Linked DNA regions of Homo sapiens: all the other regions are linked to region 1. Evidence: promoter capture Hi-C in 16 types of primary human blood cells and fetal thymus (Javierre and others, 2016). All regions are on one chromosome and are shown on one strand. The core of a region is centred on a gene start or on the middle of the fragment in contact, and the rest is flanking DNA. Distances in the headings are between cores, read along the strand shown.

Region 1 (3,951 bases), core at 657-3,156:
CGTGGTGGCAGGCACGTGTAGTCCCAGCTATTCAGGAGGCTGAGGCAAGGGAATCGCTTGAACCCAGGAGGCAGAGGTTGCAGTGAGCCGAGATCACCACATTGCCCTCCAGCCTGGGTGACAGAGCGAGACTCTGTCTCAAAAAAAAAAAAAAGAAAAGAAATACATAATAAGCATACCAATCCATTGACAAGATATTTTAAAATGTAGGCTCGATCAAATTTTTGTTTTTAAAGGATGCATGAGCCTGGCCAACATGGTGAAACCTTGTATCTACTAAAAACACAAAAGTGAGTCGGCCGTGGTGGCACGCGCCTGTAATCCCAGCTACTTGGAAGGCTGAGGCAGAAGAATCGCTTGAACCCTGAAGGCGGAGGTTGCAGTGAGCCGAGATCGAGCCACGGCACGGCACTCCAGCCTGGGTGACAGAGTAAACCCCTGTCTCAAAAACAACAACAAAATGGATGCATGCATGGAGGGCATGAAATATTTCCACTGTATTTCTGTTAATCCAACCTCAACCTCCATGAGTCCTCCACAAGGCCTACACTCAAATGATTATAAAGGGACTTCACTATTTGGAGCAGAGAATAGAAAGTAATGTCACAGAATGTGCAATGTAATATTTATCCCACGTAGTATAAACTATAGATGGGAGTGAACTCCACTCTGCCCCCTATCCCTCCACACTCAGCCCAAAGGGTGCTTCTGATGAACAGCTATCCAAAGCCTATATTTACTCCTTATTTTGTACAAAGGTCAAATGTAATTATTGCTAATAAAATGTTGGGGTTTTTTTAATCCCTAGGTTGTGATGACAAAAAAATTATTGCCTTGATAACATTCCAGTTTGTTTTTCTTGAAAAAGTCGATGAAGCAAAGAGGAAGTTACCTCTTAACTCATCTTTGATCAGTGCTACCGGTCATTTCAAGATCACTAGCTCAACCTTCCAGAAACGAACGGTTACGAAAGTATTCAAAGGGCGTCTCGGGCTTGGCACAAGTCCCTGTGCCAGGCAGGACGGAGATGGGGGTGTTCAGTCCCCAGTGTGCAAAGCACCCGACCGCGGGTCCGTCTCACAGGTTGGCGCCGCATGGGATAGCGGCTGGGCAGGCGCCCTCCGGCCCGTCCGCGGCCGTGGGGAGGATCTGCGCGGACATAGGACCTGGGGCAGTGACCTTAACAGCCCCTCCGCTGCCCAGGGGAGGCTTGGGATGGTCACGGGATTGGGATAGTGGCGTGACAGTCTCCAGGCGGCCCAGGGCGGACACCGCCCGGGGCAGTGGCCAGTCCGCCCCTCCGGGGCCCGGGAGAGGCTCAGCCGCGCGTGGGTCCGCCCTTCCCCCGGCGCCTCCAGCGACCCGCCCGCAGCGCATCTGGGGCCCGGCTCGGGCGATCGGCCAGCCCTACCTCTTCGGTGGCCGTGGGACAGTAGGAGATGAGCACGAGCGTGGTGACCACGTTGACGGCGAGCCCCAGCAGGGTGATGGAGTTGGGGGCCATCCAGAGCGGGATCCACTGGAGCAGCCAGGTCCAGTAGAGCTGCAGCGGCGGCTCGAGCAGCGAGACGCCCGCCGCGCTGTAGCGGTGCTCCTCCAGTCGCCGCAGCTGCGCCGCGCTCAGCGGCTCGCTCAGCGCCCTCAGCCAGCGCGGCGCGGACCCGGCCCCGGCGCCTGCCGCCATGGCCGCCTGAGGGCCCCGCCGCCGCCACCGAGCGCAGCCCGCGCCTGGCGCTGGGGGCAGGGAGAGGTGGAGGGAGAGGCTGGCGGCCGGGTCCTGCGACTGCCGGGCTGGACTCACCGGTCGGGCCCGCACGGCGGAGGTCGAGGTCAGGCCGGCCTGCCCGGCTGCCGGGGCCCCAGCCCCAGAAGCTGTGGGGCCGCGGCTGCGGCTCGCGGGTGGGGCGGGGCCTCGGGGAGGGGTCCGGCTGGGGGCGGGGCGGAGGGGGTCCTGCTAGGGGCGGGGAGGCGGGTGCCGCGCTCGCGGGTCACCCTCGGCGCCCGCCAACGGCAACTTGTTATCGGCGATCAAGGTCCTTGACTCCCCAGGGGCCGGCTGCACTGCGCCTGAGGTCTGATGTCTTAACCCACGGCGTCGGATTACGCCCTGAGGTCGTCTCCTCGCGGGCTGCACCACGACCGAGCCGGTTCCTCTCCTAGGGGTCGGAACACGACTCCGGTCGCCCAGTGTTAGCCACTGCAGGACCACGCTGCCCGCAGAGCCTGGGGGTTTTCGTGTGAGAACACAGTTTTGCAGGGCTCGGGTCACGGGGGTGACGGCCCCATCTGTCCTGCTTGGTAAAACACACAAGCACAATTCTCCCTTTCTGTACGGAGGAAGGCGGCCCTGCCATGTATTCGCTCTAGAGACCCATCACTGCGGATTCAGAGACCAAGGTTTTGAAACTGAAAATCAGGGCTTAGAAACACTAACAAGGAGACCGAATGGCTGAAACCCCGATACCTATTTTCTTCAGCGCATTTGATACCAACAAGGGTGAATATTTTTACACATACTCTTCCCTGGAATAAAGGGCAGGAGTGTCCTCCCCCTGCAAGGGGGAACAGGCTGGCTTGCCACACGCATTGGTAGGTCACCGGCCCCTTATCTCACAGTGCACTCACTTGGACAGGGGACATCTGTCATAAACACGTTCTGTTGCACAACCTGAGACAGGCCTGTCACTTGCTTTGCTCTTCACTTCATGGCTCTGATCTGCACGCACTTTCTAAGGCCTAGGACAAGCCAGAAATTGCTTCCAAGACACTTGTGTGGCGCAACCTCTATCGGCAAGTGCAGTTTGCCTCACGGGCTTCGTCAAACACTTGGCACAGGGGTCCACGAACTGCTGCCTGTGTGCCAGACCCAGCCCACCACCTGTTTTCCTACAGCCCTCCAGCTAAGTATGGTTTTGACATTTTTAAATGATTGGAAAAAATCAAAAGAATACAATTTTGTGTTGTGAAATTATATGAAATTCAAAGTTCAGTGCCACGAATAAAGCCATGTTTATTCCTTACCTATTGTTTGGCTGCCTTCATGCTACAAGGGCAGCAGAATTCAGTTGTGACAGACCGTATGGCTGGCAAAGCCTGGACTATGTCCTACTAGGCCCTTTAAGGAAAAAACTGGCAACCACTGCCTTAGAGCAATGAGGGTCTCTACAGACCAAGCGTATATGTCTTAGGAATATGGATCTCCTCATCTTTAGTGTGAAAAACGATGCTGACAAATGCAGGAAAGGAAATGGAATGATGGAGATCCACTTTTAACAATGCTGGTTTATGTGCAGTGAACTTGACAGTAACTACTTTTTAATTTACCGATGCCATGAACAGTCCAAGGAAAAAATCCTTTTCTAGATTAGCCGATTTCACTGTATTAAAGATAATTTTTAATGTACATCAAAAGACGTCATCAAGAGAATGAAAAGACAAGCCATAAACTGGGAAAAGGTATTTCCCTCAAAACCCACAATGAGTAGAACCCAGATTATGTAAAGAACTCCTAAAAATCAATCAGAATAAAAAATAATCAACTGGGCTATGTTCTGTTTCTATAGGAGAAGCCCTGGAACATGGTAATGTTCCAGGGTGCACTTATGAACATGAGTGAATTGCACAAGCATATGTTGACTGAAAAAAAAAAAGAAGCAGGTGTATTAGTCAGCTTGGATTGTCATAACAAAATACCACAGACTGAATAGCTTAGACAACAGGAATTTATTTCTCTCTCACATAAAAGAAGTACAGAATTGGCACTCCAAGACTGGTACGATGTTTCCATGGTCATCAGGAACTCAGGCTTTTCTGTCTCTCTGCTCCAATATCCTCTCTGACTTGTATCTATAAGGCCATCTCATGATTCAGAATGGCTGGTGAAGCTCCAGTCATCTTATTTGTGTTTCAAGCAGCAGGAAGGAGTAAGAGGACAGGAAAAACAAAAAGTAG
Region 2 (3,951 bases), core at 521-3,020, 250 kb after region 1:
AAGTTCACGCTTTTCTCCATTGTTCTTTCCTTCTGGGCGCACATAATAATAGCCTGCTATTGGAACTGGGTGTGGTGGTGTGTGCCTGTAATCCCGGCAACTCTGGAGGCTGAGGCAGGAGGATGGCTTGAACCCAGGAGTTTGAGGCTGCAGTGAGCTATGATTGTGTCATCACACTTCAGTATGGACAACAGAGCAAGACCCTGCCTCTAAAAAATAAAACAGGATGGGAGTGGTCGCTTATGCCTGTCATTCCAGCACTTTGGGAGGCCGAGGCAGGTGGCTCACTTGAGGCCAGGAGTTCGACACCAGCCTGACCAACATGGCAAAATTCTATCTCTACTAAAAATACAAAAATTAGCCAGGCATGGTGGCGTGAACCTGTAATCCCAGCTACTCTGGAGCCTGAGGCAAGAGAATCGCCTGAACCCAGGAGGCGGAGGTTGCAGTGAGCCAAGATGGCATCACTGCACTCCAGCCTGGGCCACAGAATAAGACCTTGTCTCAAAATAAAATACAACATAAAAAATAATGGAAAAAAGAAAAATAATCAGCTGTGGTTGGTTCTAAGGAACTTAGACTACCCAGGAATGTCAGAACAAAGTCCAACTTGACAACGAAAGCATTCAAAAGTTTACTAATCCTAGTGATTTGAACATAGAACTACCAGTCTCCCAATTCCATGACCTGCCAGGTAAACATTTCTAACGCTTTGAATGAAGTTCTAGGTCCCTAGAACACTTTGCAATGGATCCTTACCTGTTCTGAGATAACTATAGATTAAGTGAGGGTCAATTTCAACTCTGCTCAGCTAATATTTATATTTTATCACTTTTCAAAAATCAGCTATCCTTAATTGAGAACGTACTATGTGTCTAGCATTGTTTTAAGTTTTAAGCATCTCACATATATTAAATCATTTATTCTGTATTGCCTTTTTCTTTCTTTCTTTCTTTTTTTTTTCTTTGAGTGTCTCACTCAGTCACCCAGGCTGGAGTGCAGCAGTGCAATCTTTGCTCACTGCAACCTCTGCCTCCGGGGTTCAAGTGATTCTCCTGCCTCAGCCTCCCAAGTAGCTGGGACTACAGGCATGCACCACCACGCCCGGCTAACTTTTGTATTTTTAGTAGAGATGGGGTTTCACCACATTGGCCAGGCTGGTCTCAAACTCCTGACCTCAGGTGATCCACCTGCCTCTGCTTCCAAAGTGTTAGGATTACAGGCGTGAGCCACAACACGTGGCCGTATTCTATGTTTTCTATATTGGTCTGCAAAAGAAGCATGCCTGTGGCAGGGTGCGGTGGCTCACCTGTAATCCCAGCACTTTGGGAGGCCAAAGGGGGCGGATCACCTGAGGTCAGGAGTTCGAGACCAACCTGGCCAACATGACGAAACCCCATCTCTACTAAAAGTACAACAATTAGCCAGGCATGGTGGCAGGCACTGGTAATCCCAGCCCAGGTGGCTGAGGCAGGAGAATCGCCTGAACCCAGGAAGTGGAGGTTGTGGTGAGCTGAGATCATGCCATTGCACTCCAGCCTGGACAACAAAGTGAGACTCCATCTCAAAAAAAAAAAAAAAAGAAGCATGCCTGCAAAAAAAGAGAAATTTGAAAGTTAGCTTTTTACCTATGGTTTTCTGAAAACTAAAGTAAATAAGTAAATAGGAATTCTTAGACAGAGCAATCAGGCAAGAAAAAAAAATAAAGGGCATCCGAATTGGAAAAGGAAGTCAAACTATCTTTTTGCCAATGATACAATCATATACCTAGAAAATCTTAAAGACTCCTCCAAAAGATGCCTATATTTGATAAATGAATTCAGTAAACTCTCAGGGTACAAAATCAATGTACACGTCAGGTGAAGTGGCTCATACTTGTAATCCCAGCACTTTGGGAGGCTGAGGCAGATGGATTGCCTGAGGTCAGGAGTTCCAGACCAGCTTGGCCAACATGGTGAAACCCCATCTCTACTAAAAAAAACAAATACAAAAATTATCCAGGTATGGTTGTGCATGCCTGTGATCCCAGCTACTCGGGAGGCTGAGGCAGGAGAATTGCTTGAACCTGGGAGGTGGAGGTTGCAGTGAGCTGAGATCGTGCCACTGCACTCCAGCCTGGGCAACAGAGAGAGACTCCATCTCCAAAAAAAAGAAAAAAAAAGAAAAAAGAAAAAAAAAGAAAATCAATGTACACAAATCAGTATCACTGCTATGCATCAACAACAACAAAGCTAAAAATCAAATCAAGAACTCAATCTCTTTAAAAATAGCTGCAAAAGGCAGGATGTGGTTGCTCAAACCTGTAATCCTCACACTTTGGGAGGCTGAGATAGGAGGATCACTTGAGGCCAGGAGTTCAAGACCAGCCTGGTTAACATAGCAAGACTCCATCTCTATAAAAAAAAATAATAAAATAGCTGCAAAAAAAATAAAATAAAATAGCTGCCAAAAAAAAAAAAAAACAACTAGGAATGTACTTAACCAAGGAGGTGAAAGGGCAAGAGTTCGAGACCAGTCTGGTCAACATACCGAGACCCTGTCTCTATAAAAAAAGTAACAATAATAATAGTGGCTCCTGAGCTGCTTGCTAGGACCCGCTCCCACCCTGTGGAGTGTACTTTTCGTTTTCAATAAATCTCTGATTTTGTTGATTCAAAAAAAAAAGTAAAATAGCTGCAAAAAAAAAACAATAAACAAACAAAACAAACACCTAGCAATATACTTAACCAAGGAGGTGAAAGGATCTCTTTTAATCAAGGAGGTAAAAAATCTCTAAAAGGAGAACTACAAAACACTGCTGAAAGAAATCATAGATGATACAAACAGATGGAGATATGTCCTATTCTTATGAATTGAAAGAAGAATCAACATTGTGAAAATAACCATATTTCGCAAAGCAATCCACAGATTCAATGCAATTGTTTTTTTGTTTTTTTGTTTTTTTTGAGATGGAGTTTCACTATTGTTGCCCAGGCTGGAGTGCAACGGCACCATATTGGCTCACTGCAACCTCCATCTCCTGGGTTCAAGCGATTCTTCTATCTCAGCCTCCTGAGTAACTGGGATTACAGGCACCCACCATCACTCCCAGCTAATTTTTTTTTTTTTTTTTTTGAGATGGAGTTTTGCTCTGTTTCCCAGGCTGGAGTGCAGTGGCACCATCTTGGCTCACCACAACCTCCGCCTCCCAGGTTCAAGCGATTCTCCTGCCTCAGCCTCCCAAGTAGCTGGGACTACAGGCACATACCACCATGCCCAGCTAATTTTTTATTTTTATTTTTAGTAGAGACGAGGTTTCACTATGTGGCCAGGCTGGCCTCGAACTCCTGACCTCATGATCCGCCCACTTTGGCCTCCCAGAGTGCTGAGATTACAGGCATGAGCCACCGCATCCAGCCTAATTTGTGTATTTTTAATAGAGATGGGTTTTTATCAAGAAGTGCAATTCTTATTAAAATACAAACATCATTTTTCACAGAATTAGAAAAATCCAAAAATTAATATGGACCCAAAAAAGAGCTCAAGTAGACAAAGCAATCTTAAGCAAAAAGAGCAAATCTGAAGGCATCACATTACCTGAATTCAAAGTATGCTACAAGGCTATAGTTACCAAAACAGCATGGTACTAGTATAAAGGTAGATACATAGATCAAAGGAACAGAATAGAGGATCCAGAGATAAGACCAAATACTTACAACTGCCTAGTGTTCAACAAAACATACAAAAACATAAATTGGGGAAAGAACAATATTCAATAAGTGGTGCTGGTAAAACTGGATAGCCACCTGCTGAAGAGTGAAACTGAATCCCTATCTCCATAGGGATCCATATACAAAAGTCAACTTAAGATGAATTTAAGATTTAAATCTAAAACCTGAAACCATAAAAATTCTAGTCAAAAACCTAGGAAAAACTGTTTGGGACATTGGCCTACATAAAGAATTTATGACT
Region 3 (3,951 bases), core at 870-3,369, 240 kb before region 1:
AGGAAGAACTTGTTTACTATAATAGTTGTGAAAGGCAGATACAAATGTGGTTGTAGAATGTTTCTATCTCTAAGAAGATAATCTGAAGATAGTAGAGGGGGAAGTATCTTTCACAGATAGAGGTTATGAACTGAGCATCCTCCAGTAAGAAAGAGGAAGTGAGAACAAAGAAAGTAATAGCATAATACTTCTGAGTAGTTGTTTCTTCAGTCCAAATAGACCTAAGTTCAAATCCTAGCTTACCAGTTCCAATTAACCACTCTGACCCTCAGTTTCCTCCTCTAACAGGAGATCACAGTACACCCGCCTCTGAGAGTGACTGTGAGGTTGAGACAAAATATATCCAATAATATGGGAGGTGTTCAATAAATATTCATTTTATTCTTGTCTTACAAATCTTTTCCTATTCTGCGACTCTATGATTCAGCACTTCCTGGAATTCTAAGGCACTAGAAACTTTCCAAAGAGTTTGAACTGCTTAATTGCTAGCTTCCAAGCTCTTCCCAGCATTTCTTTGAGAGGTGAATAGTAGAAATGGATCACAAATCAGACAGACAAATGCATTTTGTTTGCTGGTCTAGCAATATCCCCTTACATGCTATTTTCTCCATTGTTCTCACTGGGACAAGAATGGGATTGTCAAAAACAAGTCGCACACTGCAGTGTGTAGAATTAGGATGGGATGTGGCTATTGCTCCTGCACTTTGCTGCCTGCAGAGATAAGCACCTGAAGTCTCTTAAGGGCTTGAGACTGGGGTCCAGCACAGGGCGGTGGGAAGGGCATTGCTTTGGGGAACAATTGTCTAGAAGCTCCCGGACTGGCCGGGCTGGTACCTCTCTGCATGACTCCCTGGTCCTCTCCTGTACATAATGCAAGGATGAAATTAGGTGAATGCAAAAGACTCTCCAAACTCAGAGTTTCTCTGAGCTGGTGATTGCTATGGGTGGAGAGTGATTCCTCTGTCCTTTGCTGGTTTCTGTGGGCTATATTCCTGGATCTTGTTTTCTCTTTCTCTTGAGGAAAACATTTTAAAAGTATATGTAAAGTCTTCTCCTACGTGGGAGGCTCTGCGTAGGGGCTGTGTTGGCGGGTAATAAGGGAAGATACAGAGAAAAAAATAACCAACCTGAGCATTTGCTGCTGACAATTACCTTAAGTCTCTTGTGTTTGGCTCTGTAAGTCTCTTGTGTTTGGCTTGGATAGGGAGACCTGTCTGTCTTGTTCTACTTCACAAGAGAACAATAAAGACATGATAAGTGAGAAAAAGCTATGTGATATATCCACATACGTGGGAGGCTCTGTGTAGGGGCAGTATTCGCTGGTAATAACCTCCTCTCCCCTCCTCTCCCCTCCCCTCCCTTCCCCTCCCTTTCCCTCCCTTTCCCTTCCCTCCTCTCCCCTCCCTTCCCCTCCTCTCCCCTTCCCTCCTCTCCTCTTCTCTCTCAATTGCCTCCAATCCTTTTATAGCCTGCCACATCATTAAAAAGAGTCTTATTGTATAAGTCTTGAGCCCAAAGTCTAGAGAAAAAATTTAAATTACAAAGAACTTATGTCCTAAAGAAGTTTGTTCTTTTCCTCACATGTGCAATTTATTCCCCCTTTAAAATGAGAAAGCTGGTGAAGGAAAGAACCACTCATTTCTCAACTCATAGGCGCTATGTTTCTTCAATAAGAACTTCCACAGTGGAATGTAGTTGCCCCAAGGTGGAAACAAACCATTGACAAGCAGTTGTTGAAAAGAGTTGCTTTATGTGATTTTCTATCTATAAAGGGAATGAGCAAAAGAAAGATGTTAACCTATCCTGATTCTATCTCATTGTATTCCTCCAACAGAAAGCCAGAGAGAAACCCAAATTGCTCTCAGTAGCTTTCCATTCAGCTAGAAAAGGAATTGCTGAAATCCCTCCCTCCGTTTGCTACAACTTTGGTTTGCCCTTTCTTGCTGAGTTTGTGGAGGGGTGGCCATACTACAGTCCCCTGGTGCCCCCTGTTGTTCATATTGCGAAAATAACCAGGCAGCATGAACTACTAAACTTTTGGTTCCTTATCTTAAAACGCTTTAAACCTTTTGGATGCATCTCAAAAATCCAAAATTGTGACTCCACCTTTAATTCACTGAGGGGAAGTTTATAGTCAACTTATATTATTATTTCATAAACTTACAGAATGTGAGGGAAGGTCCTTAGAATCTATTCAGCCAATTGTGTGTTTTGTTCTGTTCTGTTTTGTTTTGTTTTACCAAGTATGGGATTAGTTATGAGAGATATTTGCTGTTATTATGTGAAACCAAAGAGGGTTAGGAAATGCTGGGTTAAATAAGAATTAAGTAACATTAAATAAGGAGCTTCTTTCCTGCTGGCCTTCTCAGAGCATTTAATATGGACTGTGTCTCTCCCAAGGGAAAGGCAATTTCCCAATCGTGCTTTTGACAACAGAACCGCTTTTTATATGAATTTCTTGCAGGGCCAATATTCCAGGGAACACACTTGGGAAGTGCTAATCAAGTCCAAATGAATCGTTCTAGAAGTCTGGAAACTGAGGCCCAGGGAGGTGCCAGTGACTGGGTGGTAGTAGACACTGCAAGGCCCCTGTCAGGAGGCTCCCAGGCCACTTCCTCACCAGGATCCCTCCCATTCATTGGAGTTGGCCTTTAGTATTTCTGTATCCATAAAGCGTGTTTACTTGTGGAATGGGGAATGGTGTTGCCTTTAGCCAAGGATGTTGGAAAAGTTTAGTAAACCTTTTTTCAAGAATGTTCTAACTTCTTGGGGAAGAGAATTTGCTTCCGGTATTTTCAATTCAATTTCTTTCTGTCTCTTGTGAAGAACTTCATTGCTTTCTAAAAAGCTCCTATTCAACAAATTTGCATTAAGCACCTACTATGCACAGATACAGAGGAGGTCAAGATAATGCACTACTTTGGATAAAAGAAAATATTTGGGGGTCAAGTTCTGGTTCTGCTACATCCTGACTGTATAATTGGACAAGTTGCTTATCATCTTCTAAGACCCAGACTCCCCATCTATAAAGTGGGGGTAATAATACCCCCTCCAGAGGAATTGTTGAGGATTCCATTAGATAATACATGTTAAATGGCCAGCACAGTGCCAGCACATATAAGTACTCAATGAATATTTGCCACTGCTGTTATTGTTGTTAGGATTGTTATTGTTAGGATTATTGAGGCATGGTCCCTGCCCTCAGGGACTTAGCTCAGCTGGAGAAAGAAGACAAGCACGCTCAGAAACTTTAAATAGCGATATAAGGGAATAGATAGATCAGAGACAGCAACTAGGCTTCACAGAACTCCAATCAGCCTTTAGTGGCTGCCTCCAGTGCTGTGTTGGGAAGAATTCTGAGGGTTTTGCCAGCTACACAAGGAAAAAGCACCACCATCAATTAGTGATGTCTGTCACGGATGTGTGGAGAGTGGGTACGTGCTTATATGACATGTATTTGCCATTCTTAGAATGAATAACGAAATGCCAGGTGTGGCAGATTAGACAGAACAGTGGTTTCTGGAGGAGGTAAGAAAGTTGGACCTGGAGAATGGGTAGGATGTGAATGGAAAACAGATAAAGGGAGGAAGAAATATTTGACACTCAGAACTTGTGGCATATGCCAAGGATAAAACCAACATGGGCCACTTGGGTGGCAGTAAGTAAATTAGCCTGTCTAGAGTAGGTCTTGATGCTAAAGATTAGCTCTATAAATATGGTAACCAGCGATGCCAAGATGGTTTCCCAACATCAGACAAGCTGTCCCGTTGTTTCCATAAGTTCCCTCATATGCTATGTGCCTGAGTTTGAGGTTCAGATAATGTGAACACCACTCAGTCTTTATAACCATCTTCTCTACCATGGAACTGTGCAAAGGCTCTTTCCCACTGCCTTTGCTCATGGAGACTATATTTTGGTGTAAGTCCATGGCTGCTGTTCAGAAAGCCCATC
Region 4 (3,951 bases), core at 1,022-3,521, 220 kb after region 1:
CTGGGTGCACAGTGGCTCACACTTGTAATTCCAACACTTTGGGAGGCCGAGGTGGGTGGATCACCTGAGGTCAGGTGTTTGAGATCAGCCTGGCCAACATGGTAAAACCCTGTCTCTACTAAAAATACAAAAATTAGCTGGGCATGGTGGCAGGCGCCTGTGATCCCAGCTAGCTACTAGGGAGGCTGAGGCAGGAGAATCGCTTGAACCTGGGAGGCGGAGGATGCAGTGAGCCGAGATCACACTATTGCACTCCAGCCTGGGTGACAACAGTGAAACTCTATCTCAAAAAAAAAAAAAAAATTAGCTGTGGGTGGTGGTGGGCACCTGTAATCCCACCTACTTGGGAGGCCGAGGCAGGAGAATCGCTTGAACCCAGGAGGCAGAGGTTGCAGTGAGCCGAGATGGTGCCATTGCACTACGGCCTGGGCAACAGAACAAAAAAATTTATATTTAAAAATTACCCAGGCCTGGTGGCACATGTCTATAGTCCCAGCTACTTGGGAAGCTGAGGCAGGAGGATCCCTTGACCCCAGGAATTTGAAGCTTCAGTGAGCTATAATCGCACCACTGCACTCCAACCTAGGTGAGAGAAAAATACCCTGTCTTAAAAAAAAAAGATGACAGCCAAGGGAAGGCAGAATAAAGAAAGGGGACAGGAAGAAGCAGCCCAAGCTTCTACCATTTACATATGGCAAGAAGAATATGTGGGTTTCCAAGGGTTAAACACCGGAAGGGGCTGGGCTTGAGCTGTCTTTCCACACCCCAATCAAGAAGGCTGACCAGCAGGCAAGGAGTCCCCAGGGATAAGAGGCTGTGAGGCACATGCTAGAAAATGGGAGCTGAAGTAGAAAGAAGAAGGGTTGCCAGATTTAGCAAACAAAATATTGGGCATCTTGCATTTTACCTGGCAACCCTAAGTGGAGGTGGAAGAGGTTAAGCTGGAACCAAAGCACCCTCTATTTAAAATTTTTATTTACAAAATTTTTTTTTGAGACAGGGTCTTGCTCTGTTGCCCAGGTTGGTCTCGAACTCTTGGGCTCAAGTGATCCTTCCTCCTCAGCCTCCCAAAACTTTGGGATTACAGGCGTGAGCCACTGAGCCCAGCCCAAAGCACTCTCTTAAAATAAAATGTCTTGTGAAGAGGCCCCAAGGGAACAATTTATAGAAACAGAAAAAGGACATTTGACATGGTGTGATTGAAGGTAGTGACTGAAGAAAAATAAAAACCAATTCACATTTATACCTCATCCCATGAAGACCGCTTGATAAAATGGATGCATGAAGAAGACAACTAAAAGAATACATGAATGGGGAGATGGCAGGGTGTTTCCCTTTGCAGATGCTGCTATTAATAAAATATCAATGAATTGGTCCAATACATGCAGATAACACTGAGTTTGAGAAGGAAAACAGAGCAGTCTAATACAAGACTGTAGGTAAAACCAGTGCAGGGGCAGTTTGGATCTTTGCCCTGTGGCTTTTAGGGGAAACTTTTTGCAATTTCCCAGATGGACTAAGGAGAAGCAACTGATATTAACATCCTGAAAACACCTCCTTTTTACGAAGTCATCCAAACCAGTCTGAGGCTAAGTAGAGAGCAATGATGAAGGGTTATTTCCTTCCTAACAGCATGTGATCATCCATGTTGACTGTCAAGTTCAGACTACAGCTGATGGCCCTTAAAAAGCATTTTCAGGTAGAGCACAGTGGCTCACGCCTGTAATCCTTCCCTTTGGGAGGCTGAGGCTGGTGGATCACCTGAAGTCAGGAGTTTGAGACCAGCCTGGCCAATATGTGGAAATCCTGTCTCCACTAAAAATACAGAAGTTAACTGGGCATTGTGGTGCACGCCTGTAACCCCAGCTACTTGGGAGGCTGAGGCAGGAGAATCACTTGAACCTGGGAGGCAGAGGTTGCAGTGAGCTGAGATTGAGCTACTGAACCCCAGCCTGGGTGACAGAGCCAGACTCCATCTCAAAAAAAAAAAAAAAAGAAAGAAAAAACCATTTTCATAGTCAATGCTGTCTTTAAGCTGGGTTTCAGACAGTGTATGTGAAATGGAAGGCTGGCAAGAATAGGATATTTGCCTGTTATTAAGGGATGGTCTGATACTTACAATTACCGTTCTCCAATTATAGACAGGCTCCTCTGTAGGCAACACTCCATAGCAGCTGGAATTTCCTTTGACATGAGGACGATGGTTGATTAAAGCCAGGTAATTTCTGTAATCTAATTTTAAATCAGAGAAAGAAACTAAAAAAGTCAAAGTTTGTATTTGTGCATATAAATATGTGTGTATATATATGCACTTATAGATGCAATTGCTCTCATCTATGTTTTCTTGCCACTTTGCACTTCTCCTGTGGTGTTTATCTCATTATGCTGCTATTATGGATACTGTTATACATATCCCATTTGGAGAACATGCTCCTTGCAGGCTGAAACCGCATGATTTCTTTCTTTCTTTCTTTCTTTCTTTCTTTCTTTCTTTCTTTCTTTCTTTTTTCTTTCTTTCTTTCTTTCTTTTTCTTTCTTTCTTTCTTTCTTTCCTTCCTTCTTTCTTTCTTTTTCTTTCTTTCTTTCTTTCCTTCTTTCTTTCTTTCTTTCTTTCTTTCTTTCTTTCTTTCTTTCTTTCTTTTTCTTTCTTTCTTTCTTTTCTTTCTTTTTTTTTTTTAAGACAGGGTCTTGCTCTGTTACCCAGGCTGGAGTGCGGCCACGTTATTTCGGTTCACTGCAGCCTGTGCCTCCTGGCCTCAAGTGATCCTCCCACCTCAGCCTCCCAAGTAGCTGGGACTCCAGGCACACGCCACCACACTTGGCTAATTTTTGTATTTTTTGTAGAGACAGGGTTTTGCCATGTTGCCCAGGCTGGTCTTGAACTCCTGGGCTCAAGTGATCCACCCACCTTGGCTTCCCAAAGTGCTGGAATCACAGGTGTGAGCCACCATGCCCTGCCCACATGATTTCTCTTATCTTGGAACACCCTGTAATACCCTATATAAACTTAATACATAACATATTTGCATTCTATTTAGACTATATAGTCCATAGGATAATGGGTGAGGAAGGATAAAAATACTTATTCTTCCAAGTAGAATATATCTTGTTGTGTGGGTGGAAGGTCTATAAGATTCATTGGAACAATTTAAAAGCCTTTCGTGAATAGTTAAAATGAACTGTCTATTAGATAAATAAATGTCAACCAGATATTTCTAATAGCAGATAATTATATATCTTTGTATTTCTGTGTGGAATGTCATCCTCTATATTCTCTGCATTTTTATATGTGAGACTTTAGTTTTATTTAGGCTAGATACTCCTGGACATATTTTGCCTTTGCTAGAATTAATCCTGGATGCTTCAGGTAAAAATGATCTCGTTTTTGAGTCCAGGAGTTCCAGACCAGCCTGGGCAACATAGTGAGACCCTGTCTCTACAAAAAAATAAACAAATAAAAATTAAATTAAAGATAAAAAAGGTCACCGGGCACAGTGGCTCATGCCTGTAATCCCAGCGCTTTGGGAGGCCGAGATGGGCGGATCACGAGGTCAGGAGATCGAGAACATCCTGGCTAACACGGTGAAACCCCGTCTCTACTAAAAATACAAAAAATTAGATGGGCATGGTGGCGGGCGCCTGTAGTCCCAGCTACTCGGGAGGCTGAGGCAGGAGAATGGCGTGAACCCGGGAGGAGGAGCTTGCAGTGAGCCGAGATCGCGCCACTGCACGCCAGCCTGGGCGACAGAGTGAGACTTCGTCTCAAAAAAAAAAAAAAAAGAAAAAAGAAAAAAGAAAAAAAAGGTCTTCTCTGTTCTGATCATTATCCTGGAATACAGTGGCGCCATCTCGGCTTACTAAAGCTTCTGCCTCTCAGGTTCAGCAATTCTTAAGCCTCAGCCCCCAGAGTAGCTGGGATTACAGTCGCGCCACCATGCCTAGCTAATTTTT
Region 5 (3,951 bases), core at 817-3,316, 200 kb after region 1:
GATCTCAGTGCCCACTGAAACCTGGAGTTGTAACAGACTCCTGGATCCATATTTTCACACCTTAAGAGGGTCCCCCAACCCACATGTACATCAACTGGACACCTGACTGTGTCTTAACAAATCCTCAAAGTGACCAGGTGTCTGAACAAGCACTAACACTGCCCACTTGTTCAATTGGTCCAAATTCCTATAATTTATTCTGGACATCTAGAAGGAATTTGGGACACCTGAAACAATAGAGACCAGCTGTTTAATTTAACATCACTCTTCCAGCAAGTCCATGTCTTCGCCAGGCTGAAGCTTTCCCGGTCTCATTGTTCAAGAGTTTCTAAAGAGCTCAATCTCTGGCTTGGCATGGTGGCTCACACCTGTAATCTCAGCACACACCTGTAATCTCAGCACTTTGGGAGGCCGAGGCGGGTGGATCACTTGAGGTCAGGAGTTCGAGACCAGCCTGGCCAACATGGCAAAAGCCCATCTCTAGTAAAATACGAAAATTAGCCAGGTGTGGTGGCGGGTGCCTGTAGTCCCAGCTACTCAGGAGGCTGAGTCAGGAGAATTGCTTGAACCTAGGAGGTGGAGGTTGCAGTGAGCCAAGATCACGCCACTGCACTCCAGCCTGGGTGACAGAGTGAGACTCTTTCTCAAAAAAAAAAAATTAAAAAATTAAAAAAAAAAAAAGAGCTCAATCTCATCTCCATCTCCTTCCCACAGGTCTGTAGGTGGGGCTGAAAATTCACACCCTTTAATCACCGGCTCTTTCTGGGACACACCCCATCCTTAGGCTATCTAGAGGCCCCACCCTAAGTCATCTCATTAGCATAAATTTCATGTGGTAAAAGGGGACTTGTTAAAAATAGTAAAAGATACTCCCTTGCTAGGGCATGGTGGCTCATGCCTGTAATCTCAGCACTTTGGGAGGCTGAAACCAGAGGATTGCTTGAGACCAGGGGTTCAAAGCCAGTCTAGGCAACATAGGAAGACCTGTGTCTACTAAAAAAATAAACAACGAGCTGGGCGTGGTAGCACATGCCGGTAGTCTCAAGTATTCAAGAGGCTGAGGTGGGAGGATTGCTTGAACCTGGGAGACAAAGGCAGGCTGCAGTGAGCCGTGATCAGGCCATGGCACTCCAGCCTGGGTGACAGAGCAAGACCTTCCTAAAAATCAAATAAAATAAAAAAGATACTCCTATCACTCAGGGAAATTTGAAGGGTTTTAGGAGCTGCATGCCAAGAAAGAAGAACAAAGACCAATTTTTAAAAATATAAGGCCGGGCGCAGTGGTTCATGCTTGTAATCCCAGTACCTTGGTAGACTGAGGTGGGAGGATAACTTGAGGTCAGGAGTTGAAGACCAGCCTAGCCAACATGGCGAAACCCTGTAGCTACTAAAAAGACAAAAATTAGCTGGCCATGGTGGTGTGTGCCTGTAATCCCAGCTACTCAAGAGGCTGAGGCAGGAGAATTGTTTGAACCTGGGAGGCAGAGATTTGGGTGAGCTCAGATGGTGCCACTGCACTCCAGCCTGGTGACAAAGTGAGACCCTGTCTCTAAATAAATAAATACACCAATAAAAAATAAATAAAAATATAATACCACAACCTATGATACATAAAGAGAGTGCATTAGTAATTTATTTTTTTTTAAAGGCCGGGCGCAGTGGCTCACGCCTGTAATCCCAGCACTTTTGGAGGCCAAGGCAGGCAGATCACGCGGTCAGGAGATTGAGACCATCCTGACTAACACAGTGAAACCCAGTCTCTACCAAAAATACAAAAAAATTAGCCGACTGTGGTGGTATGTGCCTGTAGTCCCAGCTACTCAGGAGGCTGAGGCAGGAGAATCGCTTGAACCCGGGAGGTAGAGATTGAAGTGAGCCCAGATCATGCCACTGTACTCCAGCCTGAACGATGGAGCAAGACTCCATCTCAAAAACAAAACAAAACAAAACAAAAAAAAACAGCAATAAAAGCCCAGAACTAAATGGCTTCACCACTGAATTCTACCAAATATTTAAAAGATTTTTTTTTTGAAAGGGAGTCTTAACACTACATACTATATGAATTCACTTATGTGATAGTGAAGAAGGTGGGTATAGATTGGAAAACAACGTGAGGGAACATTAGAAGGTGCTAGGAATATTCTGTATTTTGGTCTGGATGTTGGTTATATGGGTGTATACATCAATCACAATATACAGTAAATATTAGTGCACTTTATATTTATTATACCCCTTGAAAAAAATTAGAAGCTAAGTCTAAACCAGGCTGTTATCCATCTGATGCTAGCCAGCAGGAGCCTTAGAATGATTTCAACTTAGATATACTCTACCTTTAAAAACCTAGAATTAGGGGATTTGAATCTTGGAAATCATAGGAAATTGTTTACATGAAAGTAGCAGGCCGGGCACGGTGGCTCATGCCTATAATCCCAGCACTTTGGGAGGTCGAGGCAGGCAGATGGCTTCAGCTCAGCAGTTCGAGACCAGCCTGGGCAACATAGTGAAACCCCATCTCTATAAAAAATACAAAAGTTAGCCAGATCTGGTGGTGGGCATCTGTAATCCAGCTACTCGAGAGGCTGAGTCTAGAGGATCATTTGAACCTGGGAAGTAGAGGCTGCAGTGAGTCAAGATTGTGCCACTGCATTCCATCCTGGGCAACAGAGCAAGACACTGTCTCAAAAAGAAAAGAAAAAAAAAAGCCAGGCGTGTCTCATGCCTGTAATCCCAACACTTTGGGAGGCCGAGGTGGGTGGATCACTTGAGGTCGGGAGTTCAAGACCAGCCTAGCCACCATGGCGAAACGTCATCTCTACTGAAAATACAAAAATTAGCCAGGCATGGTGGCATGCATCTATAATTCTAGCTGCTTGGGAGGCTGAGGTACAAGAACTGCTTGAAGCTGGAAGGTGGAGATTGAAGTGAGCCAAGATCACGCCACTGCACTACAGCCTGGGTGATGGAGTGAGACTCTGTCTCAAAAAGAAAAAAAAAGAAGCAGTCAAAATTAAAATTAAAAAAAGACAAATGCAAGACTCCAGTCAAAATTAAAATGTAAAAAAACATGAAAGTAGCATATGCCTCAAGGCATTCTTAGTGGATTTTTATTATTTAATTCAATTTAATTTAATTTTTTTTTGAGATGGAGTCTCGCTCTGTCACCCAGGCTGGAGTGCAATGGCGCAATCTCGGCTCAGTGCAAGCTCCGCCTCCTGGGTTCATGCCATTCTCCTGCCTCAGCCTCCCGAGTAGCTGGGAGTACAGGTGCCCGCCACCACGCCCGGCTAATTTTTTGTATTTTTAGTAGAGACGGGGTTTCACCGTGTTAGCCAGGATGGTCTCGATCTCCTGACCTCGTGATCCACCCACCTCTGCCTCCCAAAGTGCTGGGATTACAGGCGTGAGCCACTGCGCCCAGCCAAATGAAAATAAAAGGAACACATACTTTATAGGATTGCTGTGAATAGAAAATGGAAAGTACTTAGCAAAATGCCTGCCATATAAAAGTGCCAAGTAAATGTTAGCCATTGTTACTGCTAAGAAAGTGGCTCAGAGAGGAACTTACCTGTCACCCTTCTCCCTGGTGTGCTAACTTCACCCCCTGCACAGCTCTTTGATGTTGGCTTTGGCAGAAGAGGGTGAGAGGACCCAGAAGAGACAGGGAAGTGGCAAGAGGGCCCAGAGAGAAGACTAGAAGACCTTAGCAATAAGGAAGGAGAAAATGGGGCGAGGCGGGTGGTGGGAAGCAGATGAGCATATAACTAATGACATTCACTGAATTCATTGAAAGGATCTTTTCTTTTTTTAATTTCTTTTTTATTTAAAAAGCTTTTTCACTTCATACTGGATACCCCTGATGTGGCATAATCTACCTTGCACAGGAAAAGCAGGAGAAGAATAGGAAGGAAGAATAGAGGGTGGGAGAGAGGAAGGACACGTATTGAAGCTGTC
Region 6 (3,951 bases), core at 1,028-3,527, 190 kb before region 1:
AATTATCTTGTTCAACATTCAACCAATATTTACCAAGTGCCTGCAATGTGTCAGGCTCTATCACAAATGCTGTGGACAAACCCCAAATCTCTATCCTCATGGAGCATATATTTTGTGTGAGACAGGTAATAAACAAGATCAATATCCTTACATATAGATTAAGAATGGCCACTGGGAGGCCGGACGCGGTGGCTCACACCTGTAATCCCAGCACTTTTTGAGGCCGAGGTGGGCAGATCACTTGAGGCCAGGAGTTCGAGACCAGCCTGGCCAACATAGTGAAACCCTGTCTCTACTAAAAATAAAAAAAATTAGGTGGGCATGGTGGCGGGCACCTGTAGTCCTGGCTACTCAGGAGGCTGAGACAGGAGAATCACTTGAACTGGGAGGCAGAGGCTGCAGTGAGCTGAGATCATGCCACTGCTCTCCAGCCTGGGTGACAGAGCAAAACTCTGTCAAAAAAAAAAAAAAAAAAAAAAGTCCAGTGGGAAAATTGGAGTCTTCAGACATTTTTGCAAAAATGAACCTCTTCCTATCCCCCTTCAAAAGCTTAATGTGGTTCATGGGAAACCTGGTGTTAAACCATTCACAGACAACCTGCTTCTGGGGCAGGGTTTCGTAGTAGCAGAGCAGCTCCCTCCCTCGATTTGAGCTACTGAAAGTCAGCGCTTGACACAAGGGTTTATCAAAAACAAACAAAAAGAGAAGAAGGAAACTTTCTTTAAAGTTAAATGTGAAATGAAAGACTTACTATAATATAATCATAAAATTGTATTGGAAAAAGAATGCAAGGCTGGGTGTGGTGGCTCACGCCTGTTATCCCAGCACTTTGGGAGGCCAAGGCGGGAGTTCAAGACCAGCCTGACCAACATAGAGAAACCCCGTGTCTACTAAAAATACAAAATTAGCCGGGCGTGGTGGCACATGCCTCTAATCACAGCTACTCGGGAGGATGAGGTGGGAGAATCGCTTGAACCAGGTGGCAGGAGGTTGCAGTGGGCCAAGATTGCGCCATTGCACTCCAGCCTGGGCAACAAAAGTGAAACTCCATCTCAAAAAAAAAAAAAAAAACATTTTCTCTATAAAGATCAGCATCTGAAGATTTAACACACACTTGTCATAACCCAAAATTTGTGATTGTTACATAAATGCAAGTTAAAATCGTTATTTTCCTAATTTTTAGTATCATTTTTGAAGTTAAAGACCTGACCAAACTTCTTTTACTTCATTTACTCTGCAATTTTGTTCCTCCTTTTAAAGTGGCTTGATTCTAGGTGACCCAGTTTTCTGTCATCAACTACTGAGCAGAGATTATGGGGTCATGAGGTAGGACAATATGGGTGGCCAAAGGCCACAATCTATCCCACAAAACTGTATTCACATGGAAAGTGAGACGTGCTAATAAAGAGAAAAGCCAGGATCTAGAATCGGCAACACTGAAGAGTAAAGGATCACAGAATATCATGAGCAAGATATCATGGCAGGAGACACATGCCAAAAAGAAGATGGAAGACAGTGATCTATCAGCTGGAAAAAGTTAATAATTTGATAAGAAACTATAACAAGTTAAGCATGATTTGGCTTGAGAATGTGGGTGTGGCCGTGTGCAAATCTTTTTTTTTTTTTTTTTTTTTTGAGACAGGGTATCACTCTGTCACCCAAGCTGGAGTGATCACTGCAGCCTCAGACTGCAGGCTCAAGTGATCCTCCCACTCAGGCTCCTGAGTAAGTGGGACTGTAGGTGCATCCTACCACGCTCAGCTAATTTTTTGTATGTATTGTAGAGACAGGGTTGCACCATATTGCCCATGGCTGGTCTCAAACACCCGGACTCAAGTGATCAGCCCACTTCAGCCTCCCAAAGTGCTGGGATTACAGGCATAAGGCACCACACCCGAGTGCAAATCTAAACTAATTTTTTGAGATTAGCTTTTATTTGTCCTTCCTTTTGATATGCTTTTGTTAATGGTTTCAGAATAAGAAATATCACTTTATGCTATTCTAACTTGTTATATCTCACGGTGGTTGGTCCCATGTTTTTATTTTGTATTTATTTATTTTTTTTTTTTTTGAGAAAGAGTCTCGCTCTATCACCAGGCTGGAGTGCAGTGGCACAATCTCGGTCCACTGCAACCTCCACCTCCGGGTTCAAGCGATTCTTCTGCCTCAGCCTCCTGAGTAGCTGGGACTACAGGCACATGCCACCATGCCCAGCTAATTTTTGTATTTTTAGTAGAGATAGGGTTTCACAATGTTGGCCAGAATGGTTGCGATCTCTTGACCTCGTGATCCGCCTGCTTTGGCCTCCCAAAGTGCTGGGATTACAGGCGTGAGTGAGCCACTGCGCCCGGCCTCATGTTTTTAATTTAATTTTCTGATAGGAAACATTCATGCGGGGCGCAGTGGCTCACGCCTGTAATCCCAGCACTTTGGGAGGCCGAGGTGGGCGGATCATGAAGTCAGGAGATCGAGACCACCCTGGCTAACATGGTGAAACCCCGTCTCTACTAAAAATACAAAAAAATTAGCCAGGTGTGGTGGCACGTGCCTGTAATCCCAGCTATCAGGAGGCTGAGGCAGGAGAATCGCTTGAACCCGGGAGGCGGAGGTTGTGGTGAGCCGAGATCGTGCCATTGTACTCCAGCCTGGGCAACAAGAGTGAAACTCCATCTCAAAAAAAAAAAAAAAAACCTATTTGGGTAAAAAATAAAACAAAAAAGTATGCCTTATAATTATCCTTTTTCCCCATCTGCCAATGTCTCACTGACCTTGACCTACTCCTCCCTCCATCACACACAGATAAACCACTTTCATTAGTTTCTTTATGCAAGCTAATGCAAATATATATTATTTTTCTCCTCTTTTTTCTTAACTAACGAGAGCATAGGTTGTTCTGCATCTTGCTTTTTCCCATGTAACAATGTATCTTGGAGATTTTTCCATATAAGTGTATTGACGTAAAAATCTGCTAGGTACAGAGAGCTTTCACTTGAAGTATCCTTTAATAAATAAACCATATTTATTTAGGCAATTCTCTACTGATAGTCATTTGTAGTTTCCAATCTTTTGTTATTCAAAGCAATGCCCTGAGTAACTCTGCAGAAATGCCATTCTTCACATGGGCATGTACACCTATAGGATAAATTTCAAAAAAAAAAAAAAAAAAAAAGGCTGTTGCATCAAATGATGGGGGGGTGTGTGTGTATCTGTCATTTCCATAGATATTGCCCAAGTCCCACCATGGAGACTGAAATCAATTCACGTTCCTGTAAGCAATGTATGAGAGAGACTGTTTCCCCATATTCTCACCAGTACTAGTATCAAACATTTGGGTTTCTGCTAACCCACTAGATCACAACTGGCATCAGTGAGTTTTAATTTGAATATTTATTCCTATTCATAAAGTTGAGTATCTTTTCATGTGTATAAGAGCCATTTGCCAATTTATCCAATATGCTGAAGAATAACAATGTTACAAGGAGAAAGTATCTGATAAGGAAGCTGATTCTAAATGCCATACTGGGGAGAGGTCCTCCTTATGGTTGTGGCTCTTATTTAAAGTGTTCAACTGTGCTAAAAACATTAGACCATCAGGGGCCGGGCGCGGTGGCTCACGCCTGTAATCCCAGCACTTTGGGAGGCTGAGGCGGGCGGATCACAAGGTCAGGAGATCGAGACCATCCTGACTAACATGGTGAAACCCCGTCTCTACTAAAAAAATACAAAAAATTAGCCGGGAGGGGTGGCGGGCGCCTGTAGTCCCAGCTACTCGGGAGGCTGAGGCAGGAAAATGGCGTGAACCCGGGAGGCGGAGCTTGCAGTGAGCCGAGATCGCGCCACTGCACTCCAGCCTGGGAAACTCCGTCTCAAAAAAAAAAAAAAAAAAAAAAAAAAAAATTAGACCATCAGAATGACTGAACAATGTTAGAATGTAAAAGGAAACTCATCCTA
Region 7 (3,951 bases), core at 966-3,465, 170 kb after region 1:
CCTCACCATGTGACAGCGCAGAACTCACCTGTCCTCTTCAGTCTTCAGCTCTCCAATTTAGAGAGACGGTTTTCACTCTCAATTTTCTTCTTGAGTAGATATTCTCCTAAACCTTGATTCATTTAAATGGCATAATATTTTGAGTAAATATTTAACCTAAAAGAGGTGTTGTCATTTTCATTAACAGTTTGGAAGATATGAAATATATTAAATATGATGCAATTATGATACAGAGCACAAAGTTCTATGTGGGTGTGTTATGGATTGAATTATGTTTCTGCAAAATTCATATATTGAAGTCTTAACCCCTAATATCTCAGAGTGTGGACTTTTCCTTTTCTTTTTTTTTTCTTTTTAGACAGAGTTTTGCTCTTGTCGCCTGTGCTGGAGGGCAGTGGAGCAATCTTGGTTCACTGCAACTTCCACCTCCCAAGTTCAAGCAATTCTCCTGCCTTAGCAATCCAGTAGCTGGGATTACAGGCACCCGCCACCACGCCCGGCTAATTTTTGTATTTTTATTTTTAAAAAATTTTTTGAGATGGAGTTTTGCTCTTGTTGCCCAGGCTGGAGCGAAGTGGCATGATCTCGGCTCACTGCAACCTCTGCCTACTAGGTTCAAGTGATTCTCTTGCCCCACCCTCCCTGTAGCTGGGATTACAGGCACCCACCACCACACCCAGCTAATTTTTGTATTTTTAGTAGAGATGGGATTTCACCATGTTGGCCAGGCTGGTCTCGAACTCTTGACCTCAGGTAATCCACCCACCTCGGCCTCCCAGAGTGCTGGGATTACAGGCGTGAGCCACCATGCCCTGCCAGAATGTGGCCTTATTTGGAAACATAGTCGATAGGGATGTAATTAGTTAAGAAGAGGTCATACTAGAATAGCGTGAGTCCTAATTAAATATGACTGGTATCCTTATAAAAAGGGGAAATCTGGACAGAGAGACAGACATGCATAGAAGGAAGACACAGAGAGAAGATCCACATGAGTGTTGCCATGCATGAAGATCCACAGAGAGAAGGTGATCACCTGCAGGCCAAGGAGAGAGGTCTGGAGCAGATCCTCCCCTCATTGCCCTCAGGAGGAGCCAACCCTGCTGGCACCTTGATTTTGAACTTCTAGCCTCCAGAACTGTGACATAATATATTATTGTCATTAAGCCACTCAGTTTGCAACACTTTGCTTCAGTAAACTAACACAGAATGCAATATATTCTAATGATATTTGTGTGTTTAATTCTACCAAGAAGTATTGAAGGTGACTTATCATGTTTTCCTCATTTATGGGCGACATCCCCAAAGCTCATAAGTAAAGGGCTTGACCAAGGTCAAGTAGAGCCACAAATTGTCTCCATGTTCTCTTTCTAAATCTGGGTTCCCCAGAAACAATTCTCCACCTAAATCCTTAGAAGGATGTCACAAATGGTAAAGTCATTTATTCCTAGCAAACCAAACCTTTGCTGAGGATGCAGACTTTGTTACCCATTAATAGCAGAAAGGATGCTAGATCAATTATTAAAAGTACCAGCCGGGCGCAGTGGCTCAAGCCTGTAATCCCAGCACTTTGGGAGGCTGAGGTGGGTGGATCACGAGGTCAAGAGATTGAGACCATGACCATACTGGCCAACATGGTGAAACCCCGTCTCTATGAAAAATACAAAAATTAGCTGGGCATGGTGGTGTGCACCTGTAGTCTCAGCTACTTGGGAGGCTGAGGCAGGAGAATCACTTGAACCCGGGAGGCAGAGGTTGCAGTGAGCCAAGATTGAGCCACTGCACTCCAGCCTGGCAACACAGCAAGACTCTGTCCAAAAAAAAAAAAAAAAGTACCATGAAAAATTTAAGGAGGAATTTGTGCTTGCTGAGTTTTCTCCAAAAGAAGAAAATCATCATTTAACATGAAAAGCCGTAAGCATCCCTGAGTAGTGGCAGGTATCAGTGGATTGATACTCAGGGTGGCAGGAGGGGAAAAGACATAATAGCAAAATACACAAAATAAATAACCAGGCAGGGGAGGCAACTGACCTCAGTATTGAGACCATGTTATTCCCCCTGTTAGCTTCCTTCAAAGTTCTTAAAATCCTTCTTATGGCCCTTAGGATCAAATCACACTCCAGCCCTGACCTCCAAGGCCTGCCCTCCAGCTCGTCTCATCTCATTCTTTCTCTCATCACATGCATGCTGCCCCCAGCTTCTCACATGACTGGCTCATTCTTCAGGTCTCAATGCAGAGATCATCTCTTTAGGGAGGCCTTCCCTGCCTACCTGATGTAACATGGACCCCCTCCACCATCTTGATTCCATGTTCCACTTTGAATTCTCTGAAGGGCACTTAGGACATTTTTGTTTAACTACTTATTTGGTCATGATCTGTCTTTCCATTCTAGAAAATGAGATCCATGAAAGCGGGGACCTCATCTGTCCTGTGTTCCTCGCAATGCTCAGTGGGGTTCAATAAATGTTGGCTGAATAAATGAATGGGCAATTTTCATTTAAATTAATAAAGAAGTTTGGGCCCGCTGTGGTGGGTGACACCTGTAATCCCAGCACGTTGGGAAGGCTGAGGCTGGAGGATTGCTTGAGGTCAGGAGTTCGAGACCAACCTGGGCAATATGCTGAGACCTCATCTCTTTTGGCAGTTTATGGAATGTTTCATTGAAATTCTGTTGGTGCCAATTATTAATATAATATTAGTGCAGGAGTATGGGGGGAGGTCTTTAACAAAATTAAGCATCCCACACACACTGTGAGAGGCTGAATGGTTTTTCTTTTCTTTCCCTTTTTTCTCTTTCTTTTTCTTTTTTTTTTTTCTTTTTCTTTTTTTTGAGCTGGAATTTTGCTGTGTCACCCTGGATGGAGTGCCGTAGCACAGTCTTGACTCACTGCAACCTCCACCTCCCGGGTTCAAGCTATTCTCCTGCTTCAGCCTCCCAAGCAGCTGGGACTAAAGGCACACACTGCCACACCTGGCTAGTTTTTGTATTTTCAGTAGAGGCGGGGTTTCTCCATGTTGGCCAAGCTGGTGTCAAACTCCGAACCTTAAGCAATCCACCCGCCTCAGCCTCCCAAAGTGCTGGGATTACAGGCGTGGGCTACCATGCCCAGCCTGGCTGAATGGTTTCTTTCTTGACCCTAGAGTAGGAGAGTGTGACTGTATGACGTATAGAAGAATCTCAGTACACCAGGTCCTCACAAAATGTCCTTTCTTTCAACATCGTTTCCTTATAACGTTGATGAGGAAAAAAAATGCTTCCTAGCTGGGGCTGCAGTCTGAAATTTGCATGTTCCCTCCATGTCTGCATAGATGTTCTTCAGGTTCTTCGGTTTCCTCCCACATTCCAAAGATGTGTGCATGTTAGGTTAACTGGCACGACTGAGTGGTCCCAGGGTGAGTAAGCGTGGGTGTGGGAGTGGGTATGGGTGTGGTTGTGAGTGTGCCCTGCAGTGAAATGGTGTCCTGTTCAGGGATGGTACCTGCCTTGTGCCTTGAGTGCCTCAGTCAGGCTCCAGCCTCCTGAGACCCTGAACTGAAATAATTGGGTAAATCATTATCTTACCTGTTTTTATTAATTCTTCTTAAACATAGGTATAGCTTACATTCGTTTCAATGTTTAACATGAGAAGTGTTTTGATCTTTATTTAGAAATTTGGTGATGTTGGCTGGGTGTGGTGGCTCACACCTGTAATCCCAGCACTTTGGGGGGCCGAGGCAGGTGGATCACCTGAGGTCGGGAGTTCGAGACCAGCCTGACCAACATGCAGAAATCCCGTCTCTACTAAAAATACAAAAACAAACAAACAAACAAACAAAATTAGTGAGGCGTGGTGGCACATGACTGTAATCCCAGCTACTTGGGAGGCTGAGGCAGGAGAAGCGCTTGAACCCGGGAGGTGGAGGTTGTGGTAAGCCAAGATTGTGCCATTGCACTCCAGCCTGGGAAACAAGAG

What was found. The method cuts DNA at HindIII sites, captures the fragments that hold promoters and counts their contacts. A CHiCAGO score of 5 or more calls a contact.
Region 2: a fragment that was not itself captured here is called in contact with the fragment with the promoter of CHPT1 in region 1 in 1 of 17 cell types (M1 macrophages); the score reaches 5.2 in M1 macrophages.
Region 3: a fragment that was not itself captured here is called in contact with the fragment with the promoter of CHPT1 in region 1 in 1 of 17 cell types (neutrophils); the score reaches 6.7 in neutrophils.
Region 4: a fragment that was not itself captured here is called in contact with the fragment with the promoter of CHPT1 in region 1 in 2 of 17 cell types (M1 macrophages and neutrophils); the score reaches 7.6 in M1 macrophages.
Region 5: a contact is called between a fragment that was not itself captured here and the fragment with the promoter of CHPT1 in region 1, in 1 of 17 cell types (M1 macrophages). The highest score is 5.0, in M1 macrophages.
Region 6: a contact is called between a fragment that was not itself captured here and the fragment with the promoter of CHPT1 in region 1, in 1 of 17 cell types (neutrophils). The highest score is 5.4, in neutrophils.
Region 7: a fragment that was not itself captured here is called in contact with the fragment with the promoter of CHPT1 in region 1 in 2 of 17 cell types (M1 macrophages and total B cells); the score reaches 6.5 in M1 macrophages.

Annotation. Positions count from the first base shown.
Region 1 is chr12:101,695,595-101,699,545 of GRCh38, reverse strand. It overlaps CHPT1 (choline phosphotransferase 1), which reads right to left and starts at 1,906. Exons shown (of 9, transcript NM_020244.3): 1 at 1,412-1,906. The coding sequence starts at 1,684. It also overlaps a transcript of MYBPC1 not described here. RefSeq lists silencers at 1,173-1,362, 1,623-1,962 and an enhancer at 2,183-2,432. The HindIII fragment of the contact is 18,657 bases long and covers 1-3,951 here.
Region 2 is chr12:101,449,815-101,453,765 of GRCh38, reverse strand. No RefSeq gene overlaps it. Among named protein-coding and RNA genes, the nearest start is that of SPIC, 24 kb to the left of the region's middle. The HindIII fragment of the contact is 4,497 bases long and covers 1-3,951 here.
Region 3 is chr12:101,937,994-101,941,944 of GRCh38, reverse strand. No RefSeq gene overlaps it. Among named protein-coding and RNA genes, the nearest start is that of DRAM1-AS1, 24 kb to the left of the region's middle. RefSeq lists an enhancer at 1,820-2,114. The HindIII fragment of the contact is 6,116 bases long and covers 1-3,951 here.
Region 4 is chr12:101,477,863-101,481,813 of GRCh38, reverse strand. It overlaps SPIC (Spi-C transcription factor), which reads right to left. Exons shown (of 6, transcript NM_152323.3): 4 at 2,120-2,232. Among named protein-coding and RNA genes, the nearest start is that of SPIC, 4.5 kb to the right of the region's middle. The HindIII fragment of the contact is 3,188 bases long and covers 678-3,865 here.
Region 5 is chr12:101,493,887-101,497,837 of GRCh38, reverse strand. No RefSeq gene overlaps it. Among named protein-coding and RNA genes, the nearest start is that of SPIC, 21 kb to the right of the region's middle. The HindIII fragment of the contact is 3,528 bases long and covers 303-3,830 here.
Region 6 is chr12:101,882,054-101,886,004 of GRCh38, reverse strand. All of the region lies in intron 1 of DRAM1 (DNA damage regulated autophagy modulator 1), which reads right to left. Among named protein-coding and RNA genes, the nearest start is that of DRAM1, 6.4 kb to the right of the region's middle. The HindIII fragment of the contact is 3,451 bases long and covers 552-3,951 here.
Region 7 is chr12:101,522,519-101,526,469 of GRCh38, reverse strand. LOC105369935 (a long non-coding RNA gene) reads right to left here and starts at 100. Exons shown (of 3, transcript XR_945261.2): 1 at 29-100. The HindIII fragment of the contact is 5,218 bases long and covers 1-3,951 here.